Linked DNA regions of Homo sapiens: region 2 is linked to region 1. Evidence: promoter capture Hi-C in human tissues and cell types (Jung and others, 2019). All regions are on one chromosome and are shown on one strand. Each heading gives the region's core, a stretch centred on a gene start or on the middle of the fragment in contact. The rest is flanking DNA. Distances are from core to core; before and after follow the strand shown.

The links. Contacts are between HindIII fragments. The study calls those that stand out against the background at their distance.
Region 2: a fragment that was not itself captured here is called in contact with the fragment with the promoter of SRCAP in region 1 in 2 of the 25 tissues and cell types used here (heart right ventricle and small bowel).

The regions. Positions count from the first base shown.
Region 1 is chr16:30,696,654-30,703,757 of GRCh38, forward strand. It overlaps SRCAP (Snf2 related CREBBP activator protein), which reads left to right and starts at 2,518. Exons shown (of 34, transcript NM_006662.3): 1 at 2,518-2,589; 2 at 3,255-3,328; 3 at 3,963-4,225. The coding sequence starts at 4,172. It overlaps LOC730183 (a long non-coding RNA gene), which reads right to left and starts at 2,407. Exons shown (of 2, transcript NR_144637.2): 1 at 2,228-2,407; 2 at 1,054-1,278. It also overlaps the pseudogene RNU6-1043P. RefSeq lists enhancers at 1,329-1,418, 1,449-1,638, 2,295-2,589 and silencers at 1,759-2,168, 2,309-2,538. The HindIII fragment of the contact is 12,049 bases long and covers 1-7,104 here.
Region 2 is chr16:30,612,009-30,616,102 of GRCh38, forward strand. It overlaps LOC124903678 (a long non-coding RNA gene), which reads left to right. Exons shown (of 2, transcript XR_007065051.1): 2 at 3,244-4,094. Among named protein-coding and RNA genes, the nearest start is that of ZNF689, 3.7 kb to the left of the region's middle. RefSeq lists a silencer at 3,611-3,851. The HindIII fragment of the contact is 7,596 bases long and covers 1-4,094 here.

The DNA.
Region 1 (7,104 bases), core at 1,268-3,767:
CGGTGGCTCACACCTGTAGTCACAGCACTTTGGGAGGCTAAGGTAGGTGGATCACCTGAGGTCAGGAGTTTGAGAGCAGCCTGGGCAACATGGTGAAACCCTGTCTCTACCAAAAATACAAAAATTAGCTGAGTGTGGTGGTGCACACCTGTAATCCCAGCTACTTGGGAGGGTGAGCCATGAGAATTGCTTGAGCCCGGGAGACAGAGGCTGCAGGGAGCCAAGATTGTGCCATTGCACTCCGGCCTGGGTGACAGAGCAAGACTATCTCAACAAATGAATACATAAATAAATACTATGTAAAGCACATCAGAAAGCTAACCTTGACCTTAAGATCATGGGTGTGAAACACTGAACTATAGTGAAATATACTCCACATTTAGGTAGTCCTTTAGAGCTTTTTTATTTTTTCATAATTTTAAAATTTTTAATTTACTGTAGAGACGACGTCTCACTATGTTACCCAGGCTGGTCTTGAGCTCCTGGCCTCAAGTGATCCTCCTGCCTTGGCCTCCCAAAGTGCTGGGGTTACAGGTGTGAGCCACCGCACCTGGCCCTTTAGATCTTTCAAAGCAATTTTACATCAGCAATTCTATCCTCACTTTACAGAGGAAACTGAAGCTCAGAAAGGTGAAGTTAATTGCTCAAGGTCACATAGCAAGGAGTTAATGGCACAAGGCTAGGTCCAATTCAGGCTCTGGCCTGGGATCCCCTCTTCTGGGGGTGATGGGAGGAGGGTCTAGAAAAGATGGGCATCATCCACTTTTCTTTCAACCCAAACTTCATCTGTAAAATGGGACCAACAATCCTCTTCGCAGGGAAGAGCTAAACTGAATGGAGGAAGGGGAGCTTCATCAGGGCTTCCTAACCTGGCCTCTTAGCGGGGGCTTTAGGTGGTAAAATTTTATGACAGCGAGTGCATTCTTGTGGCTTAGACTGCTTGGCTAGGAATCTTGACTTCAGGATCTGTCACTGTGTTTTAACGCCTGAGCCTCAATTCGTTTGTAAAATGGAGCAGTTAGGATTAAAAGAAATAATCAAGGCACCAAGTAGTGTCAGTAGAAGGTAGCTGTTATTTATTGTTCTATTCTGGGGTAAAGGTATCAGATTCTCAAAGGGATTCTTAATCTAGAAAGTTTGCGAAGAGATGGCAAAGGTGTTTGAAAGCTATCAGGAAACCATCCTCGCGTAAAACGAAGCAGCGCTACAGAAGTGGGCTGCCATGGGAATCGGGAGGCCCAGGTTCCACTGCTAACTTGCTGCAGCTTACTGGGTGATCTGTAAATAAAAAGGGAGGTGGCGGTGGTCCGAGCTGGCAGCCGCAATGCAGCCCCAGGTAGATCTAGGGGCAAACGGTAAAGGCGCTCCGAGGAAGGGCGAGCGCGCAGCCTCTGGGAGACTACACCTCCCAGGCTGCCTTGCGCACCGTGCTGCACCCTACGCTAGCACGCGAGCCTCCCCGTTCCCCCACCCTCCAGTTACTGTCTCTCGCGAGAAGACGGGCCGCGCCGGCGATAGCGATTCCGAGCGAGTGGTGGTGGTAGTGGTGGTGGTGGCGGCCGAGACGGCGGCGGCCATTTTGGTGAGGCCTCGGGAGCGGCAGCGGCGGTTCGCTGGGAGTAGCGTCTGCCCTTTTTCCCACCCACCGTCCGCATCTGTGTGCTGCGCGAAGAGGCAGTGGAGGCAAGGCGGTGGCAGTAGCCGCAGTCTCCAGGGGAGTTTAAAGGCCGCGAAGGCGGTGGCCAAGAGGGGGCCCTCCCCCCTCCTAGGCGGGAGGGGGGGTGGTGCGCACGCCCCCGAGGACGCAGGTAAGGAGAGGGAGACAAGATGGCGAACGCCCCACAGTTCCCCCTCCCATGACGGCTGACTGCGCGCGCATCTTTCCGCCACCGCCTCCCCCCCACCTTCCCGGGGTGCTGCGCGCGCACCCTCAGCCGGGGCCCCGGGGCCGGTGCGCGAGGCTGTCGGCGCGCGCCCATAGAGACAGACTGAGGGGGTCAGGCCGGCCGGCGCTGGGCCCCGGCGTGTCTCCTCTCCCTTCCCGCCCTTCTGCGCACGCGTGCCTGAGCGAGCGAGCGAGCGAGCGAGCCCTGAGAGGACGGACCCAGGTGCGCTCCTGCCCGCCCACCAACCCAGTCACCCCTCAGGGGCGCGCGGGAAGAGGAAGGGGGGCGTGGGACGAGTAGTCGGGGCGCGCGCCCACCACATCTAGCCGGGGGACCAGGACCTGGTGGCACGAACCCTCCCTTCTCTCAGCCTTTCGCGGTCGGGTGATGGGGGGGCTCCCTGACGGGCTTGGATGACGAGCTTCCCAGCCCCGCGACCCTTGTGTGCGTGGGCTCGGGTTCTGGCGGGAGCCCCTGGGCCGTGCGCGCAGCCGGCTCGCTCCGCCTCCAGCCGCGCACGCGCGGGCCCCTCCCCCGCCCGGCGCGCACGTTGGGTGGGGTGGGAGTCTGGAGGGGGCGGGGCTATCTCAGGGCTAGTGGCAACTTGGGCAGAGGTCAGGGGTCACGCGAGGTCAGTCCGTCGGGAGGGCTAGGGAGATGGTCACGAAACCTGAAGTCAAGAGTTAAGGCTTGTTGGCTTCTGGTGAGCTCGGGTCTTGGGAACGTGTGGCGGAGTAGGGAGTGAATCAAAGCCGGCACTGTGGTTTAGGAATTTCCTTAAACACTGGGGAAGCATTTCCGGGCCTCCTGCGGGTTCACACTGCCTGTTTCCGGCGCGTGGTTCTTGGCAGTGCGGCCTCTCGCTTTTGACTGCTCCTGAGTCTCCTTTTGCTGTGGTTCTTGTATTTGGGGAAGTGTCTCAAGGCGCAGGTATGGGATATACAGCGCCCTGCCCTGAATCCTGGGCGGATTTTCCTGTGACCAGCCTGTTTGTTGACTCTTCCCGGGAGTTCCACTCTCACTTCTGCGTTCAGCCCTCACTGGAAAGGCCCGCAGGCAGGTAGCACCTTTCTGAGGTTCTGGATGTGACAGCTTTTTTTTGCTGTATTTTTTTTTTGTCTTCCATTCTGTGGTTGGAGCCTTTACACTTAAAATTTTTGAACTTTCTTTCTTCACTCCTTTCCTGCTCCTGCCCCCAGGCAGGATCGTATGTCCCTCCGGAATTCACAAAACATGATTTGCATTTCCCTGAAATGTGAGATTTTCCTACTACTGTAGTTTTTCTGTTTCTAGTCTTTTAACTGATTTGGGTATATTTAAACGTCTCAAAAAACTGGAGTAAATAATACGCTTTGATGGATGTTTCAGGTGTGATTCCCTTCAGTACGGCGGCACCGTGGAAGTGCAGACTTTCACAGGGGGTGTGGTCTCAGCTCACACAGGTGAGGGATCTGCTACCATTTTGTGTGCTGATGCTAATGGGAGAAATGTTTGAGATAAAGCAATTATAGGTCCGTATTGGGGATTTTCACTCTAGAGAAGCATGGGAATGTTTGCATGTGATTTTTCTGTAGAGGGTTTGATTATAGTACAACAACAGAACTGAGGCTGTGGGTTGAGGAAAACGTGGTCAACCTGGCTCTACCAGGAAGAGTAGCAGGTTTTCCTTGGTTTTGGCATCAGACTGTGGATTGAAGCCCTCCTATCACTTTTTTACTGTGTAACCTTCCGCAAATCATAAGGTCTTAACTTCGTAACTTACAAAACAGATTATATTAGAATGTAAGCTACATTTAGGTCGGGAATCCTTTCTGCATGGCTATATCCGTTGTGTGTAGGAGGAAGTCAATATTTGTTATGCTGTGAAAAGCACTTGGTTTTTAAGGTAGGTGTGAGGATTATAGAACACATCAAACAGGTACTAAAAGTATCTTATACATAGTAAGTGCTCAAGAAATGTAACCTGTAATTTCTGTGTTTCTCTTTATTCAGTGTTATTTCTGGTTTTTTAAAAATACTTTTTCATCCCCTTTAACTGCATTTCTGTCTTTTTTTTTTTTTTTAACCCTACTTTAGGTGCTCCAGAGGCTGGTGGACCTGAGCGGAGGCTGGGACGCCCTGGTGGGCCCCGGGCCCTGGAAGGCGGGTCCCGGTGGCCGGTGGCCCAGAATGAGGCCAGCTCCCAGCATGCCCTGCAGCCGGACGCCAGCCCCTCGGCCAGCAGTACTGGTGATAACAACCCAGTCATTCTTCAGGCATCCAAGGGGGAGCCTGGGAGTGGGACCATGCAGAGCAGCCCCTCCCCTGCTCACCCTCAGCTCCCAGTCCTACAGACACAGGTTTGAAAGTGGGAAGAGTTCCTTCTCTGCTTCTGCTTTGTGGATTGTTGAGTGTGAGGCAGAAGAAATGTGGCAGGGGAATATTTGTGGAGAGTTTTGGAGAATCTTTGGTGCTCGGGGGCTGGGCTGTAGTATATCAGGTCTGTTGGATACTCACATTCCATTTAACATTAGTGTAATATTATCTCCAAGAGTGTAAAAGCGCCTCGTTACCTGAAAAAGGTTGAATTAGGCTAGGCTGGAAATGGAGGTCGTGGCACCATGCTTCTAATACCATACGCTTTAAGAATAGTTTAACTTCTATCAGTACTGGAGTAGGATAAGCCTATGGATGGTGTGTAGTGTTCATTCCTTTCTCATACCAAGGAAGGGTGTGGGGTAGGAAAAAAAGCATGACTTTTAAACACATCTAGGTGTGTGTACAGTCAGCTTTCTATTTTAATTTTTTAAATTTTTCTATAAAAAGGGTTTCTTTATTGTGTCATCCTTGCACAGGGGCCATGCTAATCTTTTCTGTATCCTCCCAGTTTTAGTATATGTGTTGCCAAAGTGAGCAGTACAGTAAGCTTTTCATGTTTGTAAAGTTGGTATTTATAGTTTTCCTGAGAAACTGGGGAAATTTGTGACATACAGTCTTGTCATTTAGCCGAGGTAGGAATTTGAGTGGCGCAGTGTAAGGCTTATGTCCTGGAGTGAATTTGTGAATTCCCTGAGTATCCACCTTTCAGTAGGACTTTGTTTTCCATTTTTTTCTTTTCTTTTTTTTTTTTTTTGAAATGGAGTGTCTTTCAGCCAGGCTGGAATGCAATGGCGCGATCTCGGCTCACTGCAACCTCCGCCTCCTGATTTCAAACAGTTCTCCTGCCTCAGCCTTGCGAGTAGCTGGGATTATAGGCACCCACCATCATGCCTGGCTAGTTTTTATATTTTTGTAGAGATGGGGTTTCACCATCATGTTGGCCAGGCTGGTCTTGAACTCCTGACCTCAGGTGATCCACCCACCTTGGCCTCCCAAAGTATTAGGATTACAGGTGTGAGCCCCCAGGCCTGGCCTATTTTCCATTTCTTTCTTTCTTTTTTTTTTTTTTATTTTTAAGATGGAGTCTCGCTCTGTCACCAGGCTGAAATGCAGTGGTGTGATCTTGGCTCACTGCAACCTCCGCCTCCCGGGTTCAAACAATTCTTCTGCCTCAGCCTCCTGAGTAGCTGGGACTACAGGTGCGCGCCACCACGCCTGGCTAATTTTTGTGTTTTTAGTAGAGATGGGGTTTCACCATGTTTGCCAGGATGGTCTTCATCTTTGACCTCGTGATCCCCGCCTTACTCAGCCTCTCAAAAGTGCTGGAATGACAGGTGTGAACCACCGCGCCTGGCCCAGAGTTTCGCTTTTGTTGCCCAGGCTGGAGTGCAGTGGTGTGGTGTTGGCTCACTGCAACCTCCACCTCCTGGGTTCAAGTGATTCTCCTGCCTCAGCCTCTTGAGTAGCTAGGATTACAGGCGTCCGCCACCACGCCCAGCTAATTTTCTGTGTTTTTAGTAGAGATGGGGTTTCACCATGTAGGTTAGGCTGGTCTCAAACTCCTGACCTCTGGTAATCCACCCGCCTCAGCCTCCAAAAGTGCTAGGATTACAGGTGTGAGCCACCGTGCCCAGCCCTGTTTTCCACCCTCCTTCCCTCCCTCCCTCCCTTCCCTCCCTCCCTCCCTCCCTTCCCTGCCTTCCCTCCCTCCCTCCCTCCCTCCTTCCTTCCTTCCTTCCTTCTCTCCCTCCTTCCTTCTGAGTGCAATGGCACAATCTTGGCTTACTACAACCTCTGCCTCCTGGTTCAAGCAATTCTCTGCCTCAGACTCCTGAGTAGCTGGGATTACAGGCTCACGCCACCACACGTGGCTAATTTCTGTATTTTTAGTAGAGATGGGGTTTCACCATGTTGGTCAGGCTGGTCTGGAACTCCTGACCATGTGATCCGCCCGCCTCGGCCTCCCAAAGTCCACCGAGCCCAGCTTCCATTTCTTAATGCTTTTGCAGTACCTTGTAAAGTGACGTGTTGGGTGTTTGAGAACATTGGCTATGCCTGCAGCCCATGCCTGTCCAGTGAAGAGGTTAAGGTGGCCTGGGATTTATTGGTGGCTGTTGAATTTAGTGGTAGCTCACATTTATTGCATAAGTGAGTTTGCCACACTTGTTCTGAAAATGGAGGGTAAATAGGGAGTTGTTTATGTGCATGAAATCACTGAGGCTCTGAAACGATCAGAATTTGAAATCATATGCTATATATATATATATATATGTATGTATATAAATTTTTTTTTTCCTTTTCCTTTCCGAGACAGAGTCACCCTGTCATCCAAGCTGGAATGCAGTGGCGCGATCTCGGCTCACTGCAACCTCCGCCTCCCACGCCTCCCAGGTTCAAGCGATTCTCGTGCCTCAACCTCCTGAGTAGCTGGGATTACAGGCTCCCGCCACCACGCCCAGCTAATTTTTGTATTTTCAGTAGAGACGGGGTTTCACCATGTTGGCCAGGTTGGTCTCAAACTCCTGACCTCAGGTGATCCACCCACCTTAGCCTCCCAAAGTGCTGGGATCACAAGCATGAGCCACCACCCCCGGCCTATATATATATATATTTTTAAGTTTGGGAACTGTGTAAATGTCAGGACATAATTCTTGCATGTCAAGCATCTATAAACTTGGCTCTGCCATCTTGAGTCCCTTATTAAAACTTTATCCCAAGGCCGGGCGTGGTGGCTCACGCCTGTAATCCCAGCACTTTGGGAGGCTGAGGTGGGCGGATCATGAGGTCAGGAGATCGAGACCATCCTGGCTAACGTGGTGAAACCCTGTCTCTACTAAAAATACAAAAAAATTAGCTGGGC
Region 2 (4,094 bases), core at 29-2,528, 86 kb before region 1:
AGCATAGTGCTAGGCAATTGGGAGAGCGTACATAAATAAGTCATAGGCCATGCTTTGAATGGAGCTTACAGTCTAGTAAAGCATATAAATTCACAATGAATCATAACAGAATGATACAAGCATGTATGTGAAAGGCACTGAACTGAAAATTGCTGATGGAACAAGCCAGCACCCACCCCATTAGCCTCCACATTTTTTTTTTTTTTTTTTTTTTGAGACGGAGTCTCGCTCTGTCACCCAGGCTGGAGGGCAGTGGCGCCATCTCGGCTCACTGCAAGCTCCGCCTCCCGGGCTCACGCCATTCTCCTGCCTCAGCCTCCCGGGTAGCTGGGACTACAGGCGCCCGCCACCACGCCCAGCTAATTTTTTGTATTTTTAGTAGAGACGGGGTTTCACCATGTTAGCCAGGATGGTCTTGATCTCCTGACCTCGTGATCCACCCGTCTCAGCCTCCCAAAGTGCTGGGATTACAGGCGTGAGCCACTGTGCCCAGCCCTTTTTTTTTTTTTTTTTAGACGGAGTCTTGCTCTGTTGCCCAGGCTAGAGTGCAGTGGTGCAAACTCGGCTCACTGCAACCTTGGCCTCCCGGGTTCAAGTGATTCTCCTGCCTCAGCCTCCCGAGTAGCTGAGATTACAGGCACCCGCCACTTTGCTCGGCTAATTTTTGTATTTTTAGTAGAGACGGGATTTCACCATCTTGGCCAGGCTGGTCTCGAACTCCTGACCTCATGATCCAACCACCTCTGCCTCCCAAAGTGCTGGGATTACAGGCATGAGCCACCACGCCCGCCCTAGCCCCTACTTCTATGTATGTGTTATACTGCAGAGTTTCACCAGCTCAATGCCACCCCCAAGGGTCCTGCGAGCAGGAGAATACACCATTTGCCATGTCTCTTAGCTAGTGACATGCACATCTATCTCTCTAACCCTTTAATCAATATTGTAAAGCATATACTATGGGCAAAACACTAACCTCAAAGCTTTCAAGGAATAAAGACAAACAATGTGGCAGGAAAAGTCACAAAATTAGAAGGCAATGAGGCCGGGAGCAGTGGCTCACACCTGTAATCCCAGCAGTTTGGGAGGCCGAGGTGGGTGGATCACGTGAGGCCAGGAGTTCAAGACCAGCCTGGCCAACATGGCAAAACCCTGTCTCTACTAAAAATACAAAAATTAGCCGGGCTTGGTGGCACATGCCTATAGTCCCTGCTACTTGGGAGGCTGAGGCATGAGAATTGTTTTCTGTTTTGTTTTGTTTTGTTTTGTTTTGAGACGGAGTTTTGCTCTTGTTCCCCAGGCTGAGTGCAATGGAGCAATCTCGGCTCACCACAACCTCCGCCTCCCGGATTCAAACGATTCTCCTGCCTCAGCCTCCCGAGTAGCTGGGATTACAGGCATGCGCCACTACACCCAGCTAATTTTGTATTTTTAGTAGAGATGGGGTTTCTTCATGTTGGTCAGGCTGGTCTTGAACTCCTGACCTCAGCTGATCTGTCCGCCTCGACCTCCCAAAGTGCTGGGATTACAGACATGAGCCACCAGGCCCAGCCGAAGAGAATTGTTTGAAACTGGAAGGCGGAGGTTGCAGTGATCCAAGATGGTGCCACTGCACTCCAGCCTGGGTGACAGAGTAAGACTAAGTCTCAAAAAAAAAAAAAAAAAAAAAGGCTGGGCTTGGTGGCTCACGCCTGTAATCCCAGCACTTTGGGAGGCCGAGGCGGGCAGATCACTAGGTCAGGAGATCAAGACCATCCTGGCTAACACGGTGAAACCCCGTCTCTACTAAAAATATAAAAAATTAGCCAGGCATGGTGGTGGGCTTCTGTAGTCCCAGCTACTCAGGAGGCTGAGGCAGGAGAATGGCGTGAACCCGGGAGGCGGAGCTTTCGACCGAGCGAGACTCGTCTCAAAAAAAAAAAAAAAAAAGAGGAAGGAGAAGAAAGAAGAAGGAGGAGGAGGATGAGGAGGCAGCAGTGAGATATTCAGAGGAAGGAGATGTTTGAACAGAGGTGGTGGAAAAAAAACTACAGTTACAGGCTAGGTGTGGTGGCTCACACCTATAATCCCAGCACTTTGGGAGGCCGAGGTGGGGGGATTGCTTGAGCCCAGGAGTTCAAGACCAGCCTGGCCACCATGGCAAAACCCTTTCTCTACAAAAAATACAAAAATTAACTAGGCATGGTGTCGGGCACTTATAGTCCCAGCTACTTGGGAAGCTGAGGTGGGGGGATCGATTGAGACTTGGGAGGTCAAGGCTACAGTAGCCAAGATTGCACCACTGCACTCCAGCCTGGGCGAAAGAATGAGATCCTGTCTCAAAAAACAAAAACAACAACAACAACAAAAAAAAAAGGCGGGAGCTCTAGCCTCCTAATTGTGGCTGGGCGTGTGGGCATGGTGGCTCATGCCTGTAGTCCCAGCCCTTTGGGAGGCTAAGGCGAGAGGATGACTTGAGCCCAAGAGTTCAAGGCTGCAGTTAACTATGATTATTACACCACTGCGCTCCAGCGTGGTCAACAGATTGAGACTCTGTGTTTAAATGAATAGAACAAAAACAAACAAACAAACAAAAAACCTGGGCTGCATGAATCTGTTAAGAAAAGTCAGGTCAGCTGGGCGTGGTGGCTCACACCTGTAATCCATCCCAGCACTTCAGGAGGCTGAGGCGGGTGGATTGCCTGAGGTCAGGAGTTCAAGACCAGCCTGACCCACATGGTGAAACCCTGTCTCTACTAAATACAAAAAATTAGCCGAGAGTGGTGGTGCATGCCTGTAATCCCAGCTACTTAGGAGGCTGAGGCAGGAGAATCGCTTGAACCGGGGAGGCTGAGGTTGCAGTGAGCCCAGATTGCACCATTGCACTCCAGCCTGGGCAACAAGAGTGAAACTCCATCTCAAAAAAGAAAAGAAAAGTCAGGCCAGGCACGATGGTTCGTGCCTATAATCCCAGCACTTTGGGAGGCTGAGGAGGGCAAATCACCTGAGGTCAGGAGTTCAAGACCAGCCTGACCAACATGGTGAAACTCCCTCTCTACTAAATACAAAAAAATTAGGCGGGTGTGGTGGCACATGCCTGTAATCCCAGCTACTTGGGAGGCTGAGGCAGGAGAATCGCTTGGACATGGGAGGCAGAGGTTGCAGTGAGCTGAGATCACATCACTGCACTCCAGCCTAGGGGACAAAGTGAGACTCCATCTAAAAAGGGAAAAGCCAAGCTTTTATTTCTTTTTTTCTTTTTTTTAGCAGGAGAAGCAGATGCCACACTCAGAGCAGGACTGAGGCTTCTCACCTGTATGCGTGTGCCTATGAATGGCCAAGGGAGCCTCTTTGGTGCACGCACCACACACAGTCAAAGCACCAGTAGGGCTTCTCTCCTGCATGGATAAGCTGGTGCTGGAGCAAGTTTCCCAGTCAGCAAGGGGAGTGCCACACTGTAGGCAGTGGTGGCAGTGCTCACCCAAGTGCATGTGCCTGGTGGTGGCCACAAGGGAGGGGAATGCAAACTGGCACCCACATCTGTGCACACATCCGCATATGTGCGTGGACAGCGCCCTCCTCAGGTGGAAGAGGTGGCTGCAGTCGGAGCCCTTGCAGAGCTCGTCCCCTGTGTGGGGGCAGCTGGTGCTGGACCAGGTGAGCTCTCTGGGAGAATTAGACACTGCATGACCCACAAATGTGGCTGTCGGTTCGGGACTGAACAAAGGAGGACGAACGCAGAAATGGAGACAAAGAAAAGGATCTGTTTTAAAGAAAGTGTCGGGGGCTCCTTGCTTCTAGGGAATAAGGGCCCTGAGCTTCTACAGCCCTTCATATTTATTAGGTAGAATCAACAGGGACTAAGAGGTAGTAGTTGGTCAGCTGCTTGATTTAGCACAGGCTCACATAATTGCTTTCTTTATACAACAGGCTCCAGATGTTCCTATAGATAACTACAAGGAACAACTGCACCTGGTGTGTGACTGTCCTCAGCATTCCTTCTGGTGGCAGACGCAGTTGTCAGCTTGCCAACATCCTGCATTCATGAGAACAGTTTGCTGTTTGCTCATATAGCCTCCAGTGGTATACTGAGTTGGTCACGACCCTCATTCTTTTGG